Linked DNA regions of Homo sapiens: regions 2, 3, 4, 5 and 6 are each linked to region 1. The links are contacts of gene promoters, found by promoter capture Hi-C in human tissues and cell types (Jung and others, 2019). All regions are on one chromosome and are shown on one strand. Each heading gives the region's core, a stretch centred on a gene start or on the middle of the fragment in contact. The rest is flanking DNA. Distances are from core to core; before and after follow the strand shown.

Region 1 (2,983 bases), core at 135-2,634:
GGTTGGATTTACTCTCAGGCTGCTAATTCTTCTGTCAGTGTAGATGGGCCCTCTTTGGAGTCTCTTTGATTCACTATTTCCTCAGATTCCTGCTGCCTCCCACTCCTGGGGAGGCCTTGAACAAATGGCTGCAACTCATCACAACCCCATTTTCATGGGGAGAAAACGTGATTCGACACCCCCGCTCCCAATCTGGTGGCCTCACCTTAGGAGAGAAAGGTTAGAAACCCAAGACCAGACTCTACACACAGTCCCATGGCTGACAGGTGGAAAAACACACAAGCCAGGAGACAGGCTAAGCTTGCAGGTGAAAGCACCGATTCCCCCACACAGGTGTCCCCATATCCTCCACCTAACAGGCCCCTTTCTCCCCACCAAGGTGGGCCACAGCCTGGTCCCAGGCCAACTTTTAGATCACCCCACTGTGGTGTGGGAAAGGTTCAATTCCCCGAGCCTGGGAGAGATGGGAGTGGATGAGGGCTGGAGAAGCAAAGGAAATCCAGGGAGAAGTCTGGAGGGAGTCTCTGGGATGGGAAGGAAGAGCGAGGATGGGAAGGAATCATGAGCAACTTTCCTGGGTCTCTAAGGGATCCCCACAAGAATGAAATGGGGGATTATAAGGGCTGGAAGGCTGGGGGGATGGGGATAGTCAGAAGTGTATCCTCTGAATTTCAAGAGGGTCTCAAAATGGGTAACGGGATGGAAGATGTCGAAAGCCTGGGAGTATGGCCACTGAGGAGGGAACTACAGGTGGGGCTTATTCGACTTCTCCAGACCCAGATATTTGAGGGAAGCCTCAAAGGGAGTTATGTAAGTCTGGAAAATGAAACAGGGTACAGAGCGGGCTATCTGGAGCAGGAAAGGGGGTTATGTGGGTCTGGGTAGGCGTGTCGGAGGGAGGGAGCAGGTGCAGCTTATCTGCGTCCCCCAGACCCGGGTCCCTGGTAAGGTCAGCAGCGCCTTATCTGGGTCTCCAGGGAGCCTAGGGGTCGGGAATGGGGGACCCTCAGGACTGCGTCTCCAGGTCTCGGAAGGGAGGGGACCGGTGGCTTCCTCGGGTCCCCCAGACACAGGTATGGGGTCCAGGGAGAGTTTTCGTCACCCCAGGGCCTATCTGGGGCCGGGTTGGCGCAGACCGGGCCCCGGGTCGGGGGTGTGGGCGACCGCGCTGAGGGGCCCGAGATGAGGCGCGCCGCCGCTCCGGGTACAGGGCGCGCGGACGCAGCGAGACGGCCTCCCGCCCCTCTCCCCGCCGTCCCCTGGGGCCCTCGCCGGCACTCACCGCGCTCGGGGCCCCACGCTGCGGGCCGGGCCGCGCTCGGGCTCCGCCAGGCCCCCTCAGGCCCCGGTAGTGGCGGCGGTCGGGCCATTGTGCGGTGCATTGTGGGAGCCGCGCGAGCGGGCGCTCGGGTCGTGGAGGGGGCGGTGCCGCGGGATCTCTATGGTCCCGCCCGCCCGCGGGCTAGAGCGGCCGGGGCGGTGCGCGGGCGGCGCGCAGGGACCGCTGGGAGCGGGGCGGGCGCTCGCGTCCCTCCTTCCCTCCCCGACTGTGCGCCGCGGCTGGCTCGGGTTCCCGGGCCGACATGGGCGCCGCCGCGTGGGCACGGCCGCTGAGCGTGTCTTTCCTGCTGCTGCTTCTGCCGCTCCCGGGGATGCCTGCGGGCTCCTGGGACCCGGCCGGTTACCTGCTCTACTGCCCCTGCATGGGTAAGGCCTCCCAAGCCCTCTGCTCAGATGGAGAAACTGAGGCCGGGAGAGGAAAAGCCACTCCTCAGATGCGCCCAGAGACACCTTCACAGGTCCAGGAGAGAACCTCAGAGCGGGACGGGGCATGCTCTTCTCCTCTCTGCCTTAGTTGCAAGGGCACAGAGGGGCCAACGTGTCCAACTTTCCATTTGACAGATGAGAAAACTGAGGCTGGGAGAGGTTACGTGACTTGCTTGAGGTCTAAGCCAGTCCAGGGTCCAGTAAATGGAGTTAGTGGGGCAGGACTTGATGTCACTGACCCACGCTGGCTCCTGGTGATTTTTCATTGATTCAGCAAATATTTATGGGGCACCTATTCTGTGCCGGGCCCTGTTCTCTGTACTGGGAATACCGCAGTGAATAAGATAAACTCCGTGTCCTTGTAGAGCCTTCATTTTAGTTGGGGAAGACAAACAATTGAGAATAAGTAGGCCAGGCGCGGTGGCTCACTTCTGTAATCCCACCACTTTGAGAGACCGAGGCAGGATCACTTGAAGCCAGGAGCTCGAGATCAGCCTAGGCAACATAGTGAAAATCCAATCTCAAAAAAAAAAAAAAAAAAAAAAAGCAGAGCGTGGTATCGTGTGCTTGTAGTCCCTTGGGAGTTATCTGGGCGGCTACTTGGGAGGCTGAGGTGGGAGGATCTCTTGAGCCGAGGAATTCGAGGCTGCAGTGAGCTCTGATCGTGCCACCGCACTGCCAGCCTGGGTGACAGAGTGAGACCCTGTCTCGAAACAAGCAAACCCAAAAAGGGGTAAACATAAAACAATAAATACATAGTTTCATAGAGGATGATGAATACTAAGGGAAAATAAAGAGAGCAGGGTAGGGGAGAATCTAAAGACCATGCCAGGTGCACAGTTGAAATGGGTATGGTGGATCATCATTGTGGAAGTGGATGATCTTAAGGCCCCCAGTGGCTTCCAGACTCCTGACCATGACTTTCAGGGCCCTGAATGATGTGGCCTCCACTGGCCATCTCCACAACTCCCTTCTCTGCTGATCCTCCAGCTGCAGCCACACTTAACTCCTTTGCGTTCCTCACACATGCTCAGGTCTTCCAGTCTGCACTGCTGCAGGTGGCGGTCCCTATGCCTGGAATCCTCTCCTCCATTTCTGCCTGACCAGCTGTTTCCCATCCTTTAGATCTCAGCCTAAATGTCACCAGAAAGGATTTCACTGACCTCTACCCAAGTAATCTCCTCATTACCCTATCACCAAACTTTTTTCATCTCTT
Region 2 (2,983 bases), core at 255-2,754, 450 kb after region 1:
GCTCATCCCTGCCCCAAGTCACTTCAAAGCAGGGCTGTAGGCTCAGACACCTTTACCAACCAACGTGACCTCAGGCAAGGGAGCTCATTGTCACATGCCTGGGTTTCCCCATTTGCAAGGCTGGGGATGGCAACAGAGCCCACCTCAAAGGGTCTCTGAGAAGACTGGAGGAGATAACAAAGGTGAAGTGTCCAGCACAGCAACTGGTCTGACCTGAATAGCCAGCCACTGCCATCTGAAAGGTCTGGGGAACTGGGGGGTGACCTGGCACCTAGCCTGTCCGAGTCTTACCTCTTCATGTGGCAGCTGCAGTCTGGCACTCTGAGGAGGAGGATTAGAGAGCTTAAGTGACTTCTGCAAAGCCACACCACTACGGAAGAGGAAGAGGCAGCCTTGGATCCCTTGAGTGAGGAGAGGATGGGACCTGGATTCCTATGTTGACATTTGTTGAGCATCTACTGGATGCAGGGTCCTGAACAAGACCCCAGGAAGGGACTAAGATGAATCTGAGATTCACTCTGCCTTTAAGGGGACCCCAGTCTGGAAGGAGAGAGAAAACACACATACAAATAACTAGAATGCAAAGCAAATGTGGCTGGATGCAGTGGCTCACACCTGTCACTTTGGGAGGCTTAGGCAGGAGGATCACTTGAGATCAGGAGTTCGAGACCAGCCTGGCCAACACAACAAAACCTCGTCTCTACTAAAAATACAAAAATTAGCTGGGTGTGGTGGTGCACGCCTGTAGTACCAACTACTTGGGAGACTGAGGCACGAGAATCACTTGAACCTGGTGGGGCAGAGGTTACAGTGAACTGAGATCGTGCCAGTGAGCTGAGATCATGCACTTCAGCCTGGGCGACAGAGCAAGACTCCATCTCAAAAAAAAAAAAAAAAAAAAAAAAAAGCAAATACCCCTGGCATCAGAGGGGGCCCAGCAGCCCTCCATGCAAAGGGGCTGGGGTGAGACTCTTGGGATGGCGGGGAGATGCTGCTGTGTCTTGGAGCTCAATTTGCAAGGCAAAGGTTTTGATTTTATTTGAACGATAAAATCAGCCCTGGGGGTCATGGGGGTGCTGATGGAGCCTCCTCTGGCTTTTTTGGGAAGTTCTGGGTGGTCCCTGACCTCTGTGATTCCTGCTTCGAAGGTTCTGGGATCTATCCTGGAGGTATCTAGGAGTCCCGGATGCTGTGGTTTTTGGAGACTACACTGTCCAGACCCCCAGCATGAATACATTCACGTCCACAAAAAACAGTGAGGGCCCCCTTCCAGGTAGCCAGACACGCACCAGTTTGGGGGGCTTCCTGCTGCTGGGCAATTTGGTGGGGAGAGGATGCAGCACCAGTGAGAGGCCCTCTCAGAGATGGTGGAAGCCTCTCAAGGCTGAGAGATGCAAGGCTGCTGGCCCCGATGTTGCAAAGCCTGAGCCTCAGGCGGCAACCCAAAGCGGGCAGGGTGAGTGCTAGGTCACTGGCCTTGGGGATGGTGCCTCCGTCACTCCCTTCCTGGAGATCAGAGCTCAGCCAGAGGAGCGGGCTGGTCTAGCCACAGGAAGTCTGTGCAAGCACAGCCAGCAGCTCCTGGAAAATAGGCGCTGCTCTCAGCCTCCCCAGGGCACCCTGCACCCAAGCTGGGCCAAATGATGGTCTGGGGCGCCCTCTGGTGGCTCCTCTGGGCAGTGGTGGATGCTGAAGCCACTGTGAATTTAAGGGTGGGTGGGGCAGAGATGGTCAGAGTTGGAAGATTTCAAGGTGGACCACTCTTTCCACTACACAGATGGGAAAACCAAGGCCCAGAGGGAAGTGACCTGCCTACAGTTGCACAGCCAGTGACTAATACAAGAACAGAACCCAGAAGTTCCTCTGTACCAATGCTTTTTTTTAGGGGGTCTCAAGACATCCCACCCTAGGGGAGGGAAGGCTGAGTGTCCAGGGCTCACTCCCAGTGCATATGGACAGCTGAACTGTAGGTCGCTGAGTATCTGTGTGACATAGCATGCAGCACTTCCCTCCCAGGCTTGGTTCTTTGCCTCTAAAGCCTGGGGTTACTGTGTTGGCAAGGGATGGGGGACTAGGCCTCCTGCTTGCACACTGCTAGAACTGAGGGTGTAAACCAGCCAATCTTTCGGGGAGTTCTAAGAAGAGTGTTCCTACAGCTGGTATCATACTTCATGGTGAGAGATTGGGTGCTTTCCCCAAGACCAGGAACAAGACAAGGATGTCCACTCTTACGGCAAAGTTGAATTCACGACTTGTATTCAACACTGTACTGGGTACAATGGCAAGAAAATAAAGTCATCCAGATTGCAAAAGAAGAAGTAAAACTATCCCTACTTGCAGATGACATGATCTTATATATAGAAAATCTTGGTTGGGAGCAGTGGCTCATGCCTGTAATCTCAGCACTTTGGGAGGCCAAGGCAGGTGGATCACCTAAGGTCAGGAGTTTAAGACCAGCCTGGCCAGCAAGGCAAAACCATGTCTCCACTAAAAATACAAAAATTAGCCAGGCGTGGTGGTGTGTGCCTGTAACCCCAGCTACTCAGGAGGCTGAAGCACAAGAATTGCTTGAACTTGGGGTGCAGAGTTTGCAGTGAGCCAAGATCACGCCACTGCACTCCAGCCTGGGTGATGGAGCGAAAAAAAAAAAAAGAGAAAATCCTAAAGAATCCACTAAAAAAAAGTTATAACTAATAATTGGGTTTGGCAAAGTTGCAGGATACAAGATCAATATACAAAAATCAATTGAGCTTCTACACATTTGCAATGAACACTTCAAAAATGTAATTATGAAAATAATTCAATTTATACTAGCATCAAAGAGAATAAAATGCTTAGGAATAAAAGAAGTACAAAACTTATAATCTGAAAACTACAAAACATTGTTTAAAGAAATTAAAGATGCCATAAATAAATGGAAAAATACCAATGTTCATAGATCTAAAGACCCAATACCATTAAGATGGCAAGACTCCCCAAATTG
Region 3 (2,983 bases), core at 285-2,784, 390 kb before region 1:
AAGAGCTCCAACTATGGTTTTTACCAGCTTATACCAAAAACCCTTGACATTTGCTCACAAAACAAAACATCCCACTCATTTTGAATAGTAGCCTGTTCACATAGTTCATGGTTCAAACAGAAAAGTCAAAGTATATACAGTGATGTCTCCTTCCCACCCTTGGGGCCCAGTTCCTTGCTTATCCTACCAAATAAATTCTTATGTGCATAAAGTGAAATATATATTATTCATATATTATTCTCCCTTTTTTTTTTGCACAAATGGATAGCACACTCTACATGCTACTTTGCATCTTGCTTTTTTTATTCCCCCCACTTTGGTGGTCACTTTTTGTCAGTTCATTAACAGCTTCCTCAATCTTTTTTTACAGGTTCCTATTTCCCCACTGCTTAGAGGGGCTGCATTCTCCCTCCTTTCTCTCATCAAGCGTTTTTCCAATGGCTTCCCATTTGACAGAGGAGCCGAGGCCATGGAGTGAAGTGACTGGTTTGCTGCAGTCAGGACCTGAACCTGGATAACCACTCTACAGCTACTTCATTTTATCTTACTTTTTAAAATATAAAGACGGGGTCTTGTTATGTTGCCCAGGCCAGTCTCCAACTCCTGGCCTCGAGTGATCCTCCTGCCTCAGCTTCCCAAAGTGTTGGGATTACAGGTGTGAACCACTGCTTCTGGCCTCTACAGCTACTTCTAATGCACCCAGGTCTGGCCAGTTCTCAAGAGCCCCCTCTGAGAAAGGCTCTGGGTGATGGAAGGCTCCTTGGATCATAGCTGTCCTCATCCTATCTCGAACACCTCAGGCTAGAGTGCCCCTCGGGCCACCCCTGTAGTGGAGCATCCTTGAAAAGACTCTCTGCCAGCCCCCTTCTTCCATGTGGGTCATGGGTGAGAACTGGATGAGCTTGGGGGAGGGGCACAGAGCACTCTCCATCTCCCATGGCTACTCAGGGCAGCCTCCGTGTCCCCAGGAGCCCAAGAAAAGGACAGTTTCAAAAGAAAAAGCTTCCAGGCCTATGGACATGTTGAGAAAGTGCCCCCGAGACAATTTCTTACCCAAAGGTGACGCAAGCAGGTCCAGATGTCGAGGCACAGAGCTAGGCACTAGGGTCAGGGAGATTATCCCTGGGACTTTGTGGCTCTAGCCAGGTTCTGGGGAGCCCCAGGAGATGTGGCACACAGGTGGGCAGACCAGGGCTCAGCCTGGGCATACTCTTGCCCTTCAGGCCTGCCTGAGTACTCCCCTTCTTCCAGGCCCCCTCTGATCCTGTCCAAGTCAGGGATACTGAGCAAGGCCTGGGGAAAGGGCTGCTCCCCCAGCGTCCCAGATACCCCTCCCTTTTCTCGCTTGTTCCAACATCATTCTCCCCCCAGTCGGGCCATGGGAAGAATGCCGTGTCCTCTGAACTGGGGCCAAGAGTGACAGGTGGCGGCAGTCCCAGCTGCATGGCCCCTGGTGTAAGAGATCCTCTCCTCCGTCCCCGCCTCCACTGCCCACACCCCTGCCTCCGCCTCTGCCCACCCGGCCCAATCCCTTACAACTGCCCAGGACTGCTCCTGAGCAGCCGCTGGGAGACAGACGGCAACCAGGTTGCCCCTCTTTGCTCCAGGTACCTCTCTCCCCTCAGTTAGCAGGCCTCGGCTTCCTGTCTCACTGCAGCCAGACGAGAGGGGAAATTGGACAGCCTGACACACTCCACTCTTGTTTCTGCAGCTAGAAAGACTTGAGTTAGACAAGCAGCAGCACACGCCTCCCTACCTCATGGCGACAGAAAATGGAGCAGTTGAGCTGGGAATTCAGAACCCATCAACAGGTGCCAAGCTGGGGCAGGAGATGGAGGGAGGAGCTTGGGAAGGGGGGTTTTGAATCCAGGACTGGGCAGGTTCCTCAGTGGGAGTTCTGTGCCCCAGCCTTGTTTGCATGGTGCACGGGGGACCCAGAAATCAGAGGAATCTCTGGCTAGGGTTGGGCTGGGTCCAGGGCCTGTATGAAGCCCTTCCTGGAGAGACCAGGAAAATGTGAAGCCACCAGGGATGGCTGCTGGGGATGCACCTAAACAGTCAGGGCAAGGATGATGGGGGCCACCAAGGCCCACCCAAAGGGCTGGAAGCCTCCCACAGAGGCCCTCCAAGGTCGTGGCAGCTCATCTCTAGGGGCCATCAAGTGGCCCCAGAGACTCAGTGGGACAAGCATTTGCAAGTTGTTGCCTGGGTGGGAACCTGGGCCCAGAGCTGGTCTCTGCCCAGCCTGGGTGAGAGGGAAGGAAAGGAGGGTGGATCCTGATGGGTGTCTCACCTCCTCTGCAGACAAGGCACCTAAAGGTCCCACAGGTGAAAGACCCCTGGCTGCAGGGAAAGACCCTGGCCCCCCAGACCCAAAGAAAGCTCCGGATCCACCCACCCTGAAGAAAGATGCCAAAGCCCCTGCCTCAGAGAAAGGGGATGGTACCCTGGCCCAACCCTCAACTAGCAGCCAAGGCCCCAAAGGAGAGGGTGACAGGGGCGGGGGGCCCGCGGAGGGCAGTGCTGGGCCCCCGGCAGCCCTGCCCCAGCAGACTGCGACACCTGAGACCAGCGTCAAGAAGCCCAAGGCTGAGCAGGGAGCCTCAGGCAGCCAGGATCCTGGAAAGCCCAGGGTGGGCAAGAAGGCAGCAGAGGGCCAAGCAGCAGCCAGGAGGGGCTCACCTGCCTTTCTGCATAGCCCCAGCTGTCCTGCCATCATCTCCAGGTGAATATCCCCTCCTGGGAGTGGGGAGGGGTCCTGTGGTTCTGTCCCTAGGGGTCCTGCTTAATTCCCTTGTCTTAGGCATGGTTATCATCACATTCAGTGCTGGGGAGTGTAGTTCTGACATTCAGTTTCCTCTGTCCTGTGAATTGCCTCTACCGCCTTGTCCCCTGCAGAAACCAGAACCCTGCCACAATTCATACAAGACTGGAGTAAGAGAGACCCTCAAAGACTGCCTAGGTTGAACATATCTTCTCTAGG
Region 4 (2,983 bases), core at 321-2,820, 360 kb before region 1:
GAGAATCAGTCCCTCAGGCCAGCCCAGTCTTGCCCCTGCCCAGTCTCTCCCTTGCCTGTATCCTCCTCTCCCTGCTCCCCATTCCCTACCTCCCCTTCCTCTCCCTTTCTAGGAAACTCCCTGAGAAAGTCCCCAGCAGGAGAAAACCTCATGTGAGATATTCCCACCAAGGGTCTCTGCCCCCGCTGCACAACCCCACAGCCACAGCCACCCCCACATACAAGCAGGCACCCTGGCCCTCAGCCCCCAGCCATCAGGCAAGCTGACCCTCATCATCACATGGCTTTATTGGCCCTGAGAGCCACAGAGTAAATCCCAAGAGGCCCTGCTTCCCCTCACCCCCAAGTTTGTCCGGAGGCCCCAGGGGCCTGGCTGAGCACCGCTTCAATCCTGGCTTTCTGTGTGGTTGTCCTTGGCTCACCAGGGCTGGGTCCTTCGAGAGTTCTTCAGGTCCTAGAGCCAGGCTCAGCCCGGAGGGTGAGGGACCTGCAGGGACTGCCCGAGGTGAGGCTGCCTTTACTCAAAGAAGAACATTCCTGGCGTCCGGTATAGGCAGGGGGTCAGCCCCAATGGGTAGCCGGAGCCTCCCTGGACAGGGAAGCCACCTGCAACCCAGGGTTCCTTGTGGTCAGTTGGCAGGGGCAGTGGGGCCCGGAGTGAGCCTGGAGGGGTGGGTGGTGCAGGGGAGGGGGCTGCTGAGGCCAAGAGGTGCTCAAGGCCTGGGTCAGCCCCCATGCAAAAATTCAGTGCCTGCAGCCGACACTGGTAGCTGCTCCCGATGCCTGATTCCGGGGACAAGACGGGCGTAGGGGCCTTATTAAAACTCTCAGCCTCTGAGAAGCCGGCAGGAAAGCCAAACGCTGGGCATGAGGAAGATGAGGTGGCCACGGGGAGCTCCCCTGGGCATGCAGGCTTGGGCGTGGAAATCTCTTTGGGCTCCATGGGTGGCCGAGGCCTGCCATCAGTGGTTGCTGGGCACATACTGGCTGGCATGGCCCCCACCAGACCCCCAAAGCTTAGGCCCTTGGGATCTGGCAGCTCTGGTGGGAATGAGCACTGCCTGCCGGTCGTGGCGTTGGGGACTCCTGGGTCCTGGCTGGTCGCCCTGAGGGGTCCACGGCGTGCCTTGGCGGGGCCCCGGGTGCCCTCAGCACCTGTCTGCCGGGTGAAGCGGCGGCGGCGGCGTAGGAAGCTGCCGTGCTCAAACATGTCGTGGCAGTCAGGGTCCAGCGTCCAGTAGCTGCCCTTGCCTGGCTTGCGGTCATCGCGGGGCACCTTGACAAAGCACTCGTTGAGTGACAGGTTGTGGCGGATGCTGTTCTGCCAGCCGGGCCGGTTGTGGCGGTAGAAGGCGAATCGGCCCATGATGTAGCGGTAGATGCCACTGAGGGTGGCCCGCTGCCCCGGTGAGCTCTGGATGGCCATAGCAATAAGGGCGATGTAGCTGTAGGGAGGCTTGGTTGGCTCAGTTGTGGGGGCGCCAGGCCCGGGCAGAGGCTGCTGCTGCATGCTGGCCGGGCTGCCAGGCTGCTGGGACCTGCTGGGTCAGGCTCAGCTTCCAGGGCTGGCGTCCGGAATAGCCTGCCCAGGCTGGTTAAAAGGTCCACTGGCCCAGCCTCCCAGCCTGGAAAGGCAAAAAGGGGTGGGTCTGCTGAGCCATCCTCCCCTCCTCCCTCGCCCCACTCCCACAAGGCCCAAAAGAGGCGGGCAGGAGAGGCCAGTAGTGGGAAGCCGAGCAGCTGCCAGGGATGAGGAGTTGGGAAGGAAGGGACTGAGACCCTCAGCCCACGTGTGCTGGGTGGTGGTGGCTGGGGAGGGACAGGATGTGAAACTGAGCGGGACAGAGACAAAAACAAAATGAGACAGAGGCAGAAACATATGAAACAGAGACAGGGAAAAAAGAGATAGAGACAGAGAGAGGTAGAGACATCACAAGAGGGAGAAAGAGGGAGAGACAAAGATAAGACAGAGGCAGACACAACGGACAGAGACACCCAGAGCCTCTCAGACACTCACAGAGAGACACACAGACATACACGTACAGACACACAGAGACACACAGACATACACGTACAGACACACAGAGACACACAGACACAGACACACACACAGACACACACACACAGACATAAGCACACACACACATATACACAGAGACAGACACACACAGACACATAGGCATACACACAGACACACACACAAGCACATACACAGACACACAGAGACATACACACACAGAAACACAGAGACACAGACACAGACACACACACACACACACACACACACACACGTAGTATACGGAGAAAGTGAGAATCACTGAGCAGGCAGAAACAAGGAAATCCACAAAGCCAGAGAGAAAGGAGATACTGAGAGACACAGGTGCAAACACAAGGAGTGAAAGGAATGAATAGAGAGAGAGAGAGAGAGAGAGAGAGAGAGAGAGGAGAGAGAGGCAGGGCCTGAGCCCAGTCCCCCTAGAGTGAGAGAAGCCCCAGGGGCTTCTCTAATCCCTACCTCTACTCCTGCTTTTCCCTCTTCTCCCAGGCCTGTGGTCTACTGCCTTCTCCTGCGGTGCAGAGGCCTTGGGGCCACACCACTCCTACCCCATCCTCCTAGCTCTGGGGTGTCTGCAGGGAGGGGCACCTAGGATGGTAAGGAGAGCCCATGAAATTCAGTTCTGCTGCATCCCTGTCGCCCCCTAGTGACTGGTGTGGGAAGGACAGCTATCTGGGGAGAGACATTCTCCCTCCCAAGAGGCACCTCAAGACCTTGGCTGAGCCTCAGTTTCCCCATCTCTAACATGGAGCTGGTGACTCCTCAGCTGTCCAGGCCATGGTGGGGAGGCAACAGGTTCCCCTTACACAGAATGCAGCACCCTCATCAAGAGCCTAGTATGGAGTAGGGATATGAACATGGCTGCGGATTGTCACTCTGAACTGAGGCTACCCCAGCTGCAGCCTGGGGTCGGGAGGTCCAGAGAGTC
Region 5 (2,983 bases), core at 262-2,761, 340 kb before region 1:
CTCAGAGAGAAACAGCTACTTGGCTATGGCCACACAGCTCATAAGGAATAGAGTCCCGGGTTGGCCTCTCTCCAGTGAATGGTGGGCCCTCAGGCACTGTGACAGGCTGGAGAAGATCCCTCACAGGTCCAACCTTCCCACAGGGGGAGTGTGTGTTCAGCAGAGGGCACAGCCACTTCCTTCCTCCCCCACCTTATCCCCCTCCGCTTAACTCACCAGTGCACAAGGCAGTTCCCCCCATTAAGGCGGCAGCAGTGGATGAAGTTGATACATTCTTTGAAGTGCTTTTTGCTAGAGGAGAAAGCAATAGGGTAGGGAGCACTGCAGGGCAGACCTCTCAGGAGTTGTTCCGCCCCCACCCCAATTACAGGATAGCAAGGGACATAGAGCCCTGGGGTCCCCAGGTCAGCCAGCACATGCAGTGAATATGGGCCAGTACTTAGTATGAGCTGGAGGTGTGTTTGTGTGAAGCAAGAATGGTGGCATTTCAGGCAGTGAGAGAGACCAGTCAGGACAAATCTCACCATCTAGGCAGGAGCACTCCTCCTGTGGACCCTGTTTTCATGTTGGGTTTATTGTGGCCTTTCAGAGAAATGGGTGGGAGGAAACACAGGGGTCCCACTCCTCTGGGGTCTGCAATCAGAGCACCTGGGCACAATGATGGGCAGCAGCAGGCTGGGAGCAAGATTCCCAAGGGGCAGCACTGTCTGCTTGGCTCCATCCCAAGCGGGGAGGCACTACTGCTGATGCCACAAACAAAAATCCCGTTTTCTGAGCTCAGTTATACTCCAGGCCCTATCCTAGATCCTTGACCTGTGTCATCTGATCTTCGAAAGCCTCCTTGACTCTGATCATGCACTCCTGATTTACAGGTGAGGCCCAGAGCGGGGAAGTGATTTGTTCAAGGTCACACAGCAAGTAAATGGCAGAGCCTGGCCGGAACTCAGATGTCTTAACCCCAAGGCCAGGAACAGGCTGAATATGACCCTTTCAAATCAGCTGGTGTAGCTGGTCCCAAGGTACAGAGTGTCCTTTTCCCATTTCATAGCTGATGAGACTGAGGCTCGGGGAGGTGGAGAGTCTTGGCCAAGGGCCTATCACAAGGGCATGGTTGAGACAGAGTCAAACCTGGGACTGGTTGAGTTGAACACCTGTGATAGCTCTCTGGCCTGAGTACTTTGTCCTCCTTCAAACCCCCTCCCCCTCCCCCACCACAGAAGGCAGCTGTCTGTCCATCTATGGGTCCATCCAGGGGAACTTACATGGGTACCTCAGGGGTATCAGCGACCGGGATGCGAAGGTAGGTGATATCCTGCAAGTACAAAATACACTCAGGCAGGGGACCTTGCCTGCAACCCTCCCTGATGCTGGTCCGAGCTGCCCAGGCAGGGCATAACCCCAGCCCAGTTCCTGCCCTTCTCTGGCCCACTGTGGTCCTCTCTGTCCAAAGAAAGTAGTTGTCATCTCTGAGGCCTCCCAGCTGTGACCACTTGTGATTCCTGAACCTTCTAAGCACATGGTGTCTCCTAACCCCATCAGCGGCGTGGGCATGACGTCACCTATCCCTCCCAACAGGGACCCAGGAACCTTTATCAAGTAGCTAGGAAAGGGCTACTTAAAGGGACTCCACTCCAAATGGGAATTACAAAATTACATCGTAAAAAAGGTAGAGCAGATTTGATTATCTTGAAAAGAAACAAAAATCATGAAAACAAGTATACATTTCAGGAATCATGGTTATAAAATGATGTGCTGATTATGAGAATAATCAAGGAATAAATTGTCAGGAATTTTTTCCAGCAAACTTGCTGTGATGTCCTTTGTTTCCTGATTAGCCACACAATATCATGAAGATTATTTTTGCCCGCCTCCTGAGGACCTCCTTGCTTTTCTCGAGAAACTGTCTTAACATTTTTATATTCAAATGGCTCTTTTCAGGGGCCAGGCCCGTCACTGGCAGTAACTAAGGGACCACCAGCCAGGTTCTCATTTGTCCATGGCTTTGTGTGAGATTCCAGCCCTTCTCTCACTCACATTCCCCAAGGTCATGACATCCTGCATCTTTGGCAAGGTTTGCAATTTCACTTTGCAACACATTTGGCCTTGGGTTTGTGTGGTACTATCAAACCCTGCCTGGTAAATTTGCTGATGGAGGGGGGAAGGAGAGATGCTTGGGAGAAGCAGGAAGGGCCGTAGGAGCAGAGACTCATTGTGTAGGCTGTCATTTCATTAGTAAATACACTCATGACTTGACAACCTTCCCCATGCACTCTAGTGACTGTTTACTCCAAATACTCCCAAACGAGGCTGCCCTATGAGGCAAAATAAGACTGCAATGGCCTGGAAATTTCTTCTCTGAATGACATTGAAAATCATAGATTATTAGAGGTTGCTGTTAGAGAATATCAAATCTGACATATGGGAAAACTGAGGCCTAGAGAAGGGAAGGACCTTGGCCAAGATCACACAGCAAGTCTATGGCAGAACCGGGTCTTCATTTCAGATCTCCAGGACCTTTTCCCACCCATGGTTCTTTCTCTCCAGTGGATGATACAGACTCTAATAGATAAGGGTGAAGAGGCTCTGTTTATGGGATAAGAATATGATTAAATTTGTTATAGTATCAGTTGTGATTTGTTGAGCATCTATTTATGTGGTTCCCAACCACTCAGTGAAGTGGGTACTGTTATAAAGTTCCCGTTTTACAGATCAGGCAACTGAGGCTCAGAGGGGGCAAAGTCCTGTCCCCAAGGTCATAGAGCAAATAAACAGTGAAGATGTTCCTGACATAAGCACGTGTAGTCTGGATTTATTACTTTCCTCTGCTGGGTCCTAACACCCTCATGCCCCTTTCCCAGGACTTGATAATACCAGCACCAACCGCCCTAGAGGGGACCATGCTTTACAGTGTGCAAAGCATCTTCACCATCCTGCAGTCCCTTTGCATCCTCACAGCAGCCTTCTGGGGGCAGACAGAGCTGAG
Region 6 (2,983 bases), core at 198-2,697, 290 kb after region 1:
ATTCATGGACGCCCAGGTAGCAGCTCCTGACCTGTGCAAGCTTTTCCCTTGACACACACAAAGCGTCCCGAGGCCAGCCCTGCATGCAGTATTGCTGCTTATGGCACCAGGCAGCTCTCCTGCTTGCACCAGTAAATTACGAGTGCTTCCTGCATTTTTTCCCCCAGATAATAAAGTTGAAAGGCCACCTTGGCATTCTCGCATTTGTAGGGGTGGAGGTCTGCAGCCCGGAAGGGGCTCGAGCCTCAAGGAGCTGCTGGGGACAATGAGCTGTTCAGGTTCGGGGTATCTGCCAACCCCACCAGACACTGGCTCTCCAGACAGGGTGGTGGCTGTTTTCCACTTTCCCACACAGCTTCAGGGAAGTGAGAGGAAAGAAAAGACACAGACCTCTCCCAGCTCAGGTTGCCCTCACAAAACAGAGGAAATGCTCATTTTCTGTGAGAATTTGGAAATTGTAGTAAGTTTCTAGAAAGCACCCCAGGATGTTCAAGAACATATACTGATTGCAAAAATAATGTCCCATAACAAAAGATGTTTGACAATGAGCTTTTCACGCCTCTCTCTGTTCTCTTAAAAAAAAAAAAAGCTTTCTGATAAATCATTCCCTCTCAAGTTTAGAAATGCCCTATTTTCACAGGGCATGGTGGCTCATGCCTGTCATTCCAGCACTTTAGGAGGCCAAAGTGGGAGGATCGCTTGAGCCCAGGAGTTCAAGACCAGCCTGGGCAACACGTGAAGCCCCATCTCTATAAAAAGTGCAAAAAATTAGCCAGGTGTGGTGGTGTGTGCCTGTAGTTCCAGCTACTCGGGAGGCTGAGGTGGGAGGATCACTAGAGCCTGGGAAGTCGAGGCTGCATTGAGCTGTGATTGCACCACTGCACTCTACCCTGGGCAACGGGAGTGAGACCCTGTCTCAATAAAAAAAAAAAAAAAAAAAAAGAAATGCACTATTTTCTTTGGGAGGCCCAGAAGTTCAAGATCAGCCTGGGCAACAAAGTGAAGCACTGTTTCTACTTAAAAAATTTTTGTGTTTGTTTGTTTTTGAGGCAGAGTCTTGGTCTTGCTCTGTTGCCTAGGCTGGAGTGCAGTGGTGCAATCTCAGCTCACTGCAACCTCTGCTTCCCAGGTTCAAGTGATTCTCCTGCCTCAACCTCCTGAGTACCTGGGATTACAGGCTCCTGCCACCACGCCAGCTAATTTTTGTATTTTTAGTAGAGACGGGGCTTCACCATGTTGGTCAGGCTGGTCTCAAACTCCTGGCCTTGTGATCTGCCCACCTTGGCCTCCCAAAGTGCTGGGATTACAGGCGTGAGCCACTGCTCCTGGCCAAAAAAAATTTTTTTTTAAATAAATGCCCTATTTTGCATGATACCATTTTAGGAGGATGGGGAATGCTGTGCTGTCCATGTTTAGAGCCCCCCGATCCTGACACTGGGCTCATGGTGCTCCTGGTTCTCAGTCCACCTCTGTTTGTCAGTGAACAAAGAGGCCTGGGATAAAGTGTCTTCACATAATGCTCATGTGGTCAGATCAGTGGTGCTGCTGCAGTATTTTTCCTCCACCAAAAAGCGGATACAAACATTTTTAGGCATTAAAGAAACAATTTTTGGCTGGGTGTGGTGGCTCATGCCTGTAATCCCAGCACTTTGGGAGGCTGAGGCAGGCAGATCACTTGAGGCCAGGAGTTTCAGACCAGCTTGGCCAACATGGTGAAACCCCATCTCTACTAAAAATGCAAAAATTAGCCGGGCATGGTGGCAGGCATCTGTAGTCCCAGCTACTCAGTCAGCTGAGGCAGGAGAATTGCTTGAACCTGGGCAGCGGAGGTTGTAGTGAGCCAAGATTTTGCGACTGCACTCTAGCCTGGGCAACAGAGGGAGACCTTGTCTCAAAAAAAAAAAAAAAAAAAAAAGGAACAATTATTTTTTTCAAAGTAATGCCTTTTTTCAAGCCAGCAAAACTTTTAAAAAGAAAGCCAACAAAAGAGGAACAATTCCTACTAGATATTAAAACATATGATAAAGTTTTCACACTTAAAACAGTTTGGTAGCTGCTACATGAATAGTCAAGGAGCCCAGTGGACCAAACAGAAGTAGATTCTGTTTTGGATGGAAACTTAGTAAGTTTTAAAGGTGTCATCTCAAATCAGTGGGGGAAAATGGAGTATTTAACAAATGATGCTGAGACAAAAGGGTTAAGCGGAATCTGTATCTCAGAATACGTCAGCATAAGCTCCAAATGGATCAAAGATTAAATATAAAAAATGAAAATAAAAACATGTATGCTTTTTGCTCTGTCAGCTGGAAGAGCCTGCAAGAAAGGATACTTCAGTACCAATGGGCACACATAGTGCCCAGATCTTGTTTTTTTGTTTTGTTTTATACAAAATATATAGAGATGAGGTTTGCCCAGGCTGGTCTTGAACTCCTGAACTCAAGAGACCCTTCTGCCTTGGCCTCCCAAAGTGTTGGGATAATGGGTGTAAGCCACCATGCCCAGCCAGATTTTTTTTTTTTTTTTTTTGAGACGGAGTCTTGCTTTCTTGCCCAGGCTGGAGTGCAGTGGCACAATCTCGGCTCATTGCAAGCTCCGCCTCCCGGGTTCATGCCATTCTTCTGCCTCAGCCTCCCAAGTAGCTGGGAGTACAGGCGCCTGCCACCACGCCCAGCTAATTTTTTTGTATTTCTTTCTTTTTTTTTTTTTTTTTTACTAGAGACATGGTTTCATCGTGTTAGCCAGGATGGTCTCGATCCGATATTTTGGTTTTTAATATGGTTTTCCAATAAAAGGAATCAGAGCTCCTTGGAGAAATCACTGATTCCAGGATTGGGGCAGGAAATATGCAAGATGAGCCTGGAGTCTTACAGTGCCAGAAAGCAAAGAAGCACTAAAAAACAAGAAACGAACAAACAAAAACCCCAAACACCAATGAGGTATGGCAAAAGAGCACAGGAAACAACTGAAAAAGCTCCAATGGCCA

Evidence for each region. The method cuts DNA at HindIII sites, captures the fragments that hold promoters and counts their contacts. A contact is called where the count stands out against the background at its distance.
Region 2: a fragment that was not itself captured here is called in contact with the fragment with the promoter of PLAGL2 in region 1 in 1 of the 25 tissues and cell types used here (small bowel).
Region 3: a contact is called between the fragment with the promoter of MYLK2 here and the fragment with the promoter of PLAGL2 in region 1, in 1 of the 25 tissues and cell types used here (lymphoblastoid cells).
Region 4: the fragment with the promoter of FOXS1 here is called in contact with the fragment with the promoter of PLAGL2 in region 1 in 1 of the 25 tissues and cell types used here (lymphoblastoid cells).
Region 5: a contact is called between a fragment that was not itself captured here and the fragment with the promoter of PLAGL2 in region 1, in 1 of the 25 tissues and cell types used here (spleen).
Region 6: a contact is called between a fragment that was not itself captured here and the fragment with the promoter of PLAGL2 in region 1, in 3 of the 25 tissues and cell types used here (dorsolateral prefrontal cortex, lymphoblastoid cells and mesenchymal stem cells).

What each region holds. Positions count from the first base shown.
Region 1 is chr20:32,206,359-32,209,341 of GRCh38, forward strand. It overlaps PLAGL2 (PLAG1 like zinc finger 2), which reads right to left and starts at 1,385. Exons shown (of 3, transcript NM_002657.3): 1 at 1,283-1,385. POFUT1 (protein O-fucosyltransferase 1) reads left to right here and starts at 1,522. Exons shown (of 7, transcript NM_015352.2): 1 at 1,522-1,707. The coding sequence starts at 1,584. RefSeq lists a silencer at 1,172-1,591 and enhancers at 1,356-2,269, 1,732-1,861. The HindIII fragment of the contact is 8,119 bases long and covers 1-2,983 here.
Region 2 is chr20:32,651,442-32,654,424 of GRCh38, forward strand. C20orf203 (chromosome 20 open reading frame 203) reads right to left here. Exons shown (of 6, transcript NM_182584.4): 2 at 292-540. Among named protein-coding and RNA genes, the nearest start is that of C20orf203, 21 kb to the right of the region's middle. RefSeq lists an enhancer at 1,293-1,342 and a silencer at 1,633-1,732. The HindIII fragment of the contact is 8,874 bases long and covers 1-2,983 here.
Region 3 is chr20:31,817,822-31,820,804 of GRCh38, forward strand. It overlaps MYLK2 (myosin light chain kinase 2), which reads left to right and starts at 1,535. Exons shown (of 13, transcript NM_033118.4): 1 at 1,535-1,607; 2 at 1,712-1,811; 3 at 2,305-2,725. The coding sequence starts at 1,760. RefSeq lists an enhancer at 2,019-2,560. The HindIII fragment of the contact is 11,029 bases long and covers 1-2,983 here.
Region 4 is chr20:31,844,034-31,847,016 of GRCh38, forward strand. It overlaps FOXS1 (forkhead box S1), which reads right to left and starts at 1,571. Exons shown (of 1, transcript NM_004118.4): 1 at 270-1,571. The coding sequence starts at 1,509. The coding sequence ends at 517. It also overlaps a transcript of DUSP15 not described here. RefSeq lists an enhancer at 955-1,512. The HindIII fragment of the contact is 12,044 bases long and covers 1-2,983 here.
Region 5 is chr20:31,863,691-31,866,673 of GRCh38, forward strand. DUSP15 (dual specificity phosphatase 15) reads right to left here. Exons shown (of 7, transcript NM_080611.5): 4 at 1,263-1,312; 5 at 217-291. Among named protein-coding and RNA genes, the nearest start is that of DUSP15, 5.3 kb to the right of the region's middle. The HindIII fragment of the contact is 6,921 bases long and covers 1-2,983 here.
Region 6 is chr20:32,497,846-32,500,828 of GRCh38, forward strand. The region is part of intron 4 of NOL4L (nucleolar protein 4 like); the gene reads right to left. Among named protein-coding and RNA genes, the nearest start is that of NOL4L-AS1, 62 kb to the right of the region's middle. The HindIII fragment of the contact is 3,583 bases long and covers 1-2,983 here.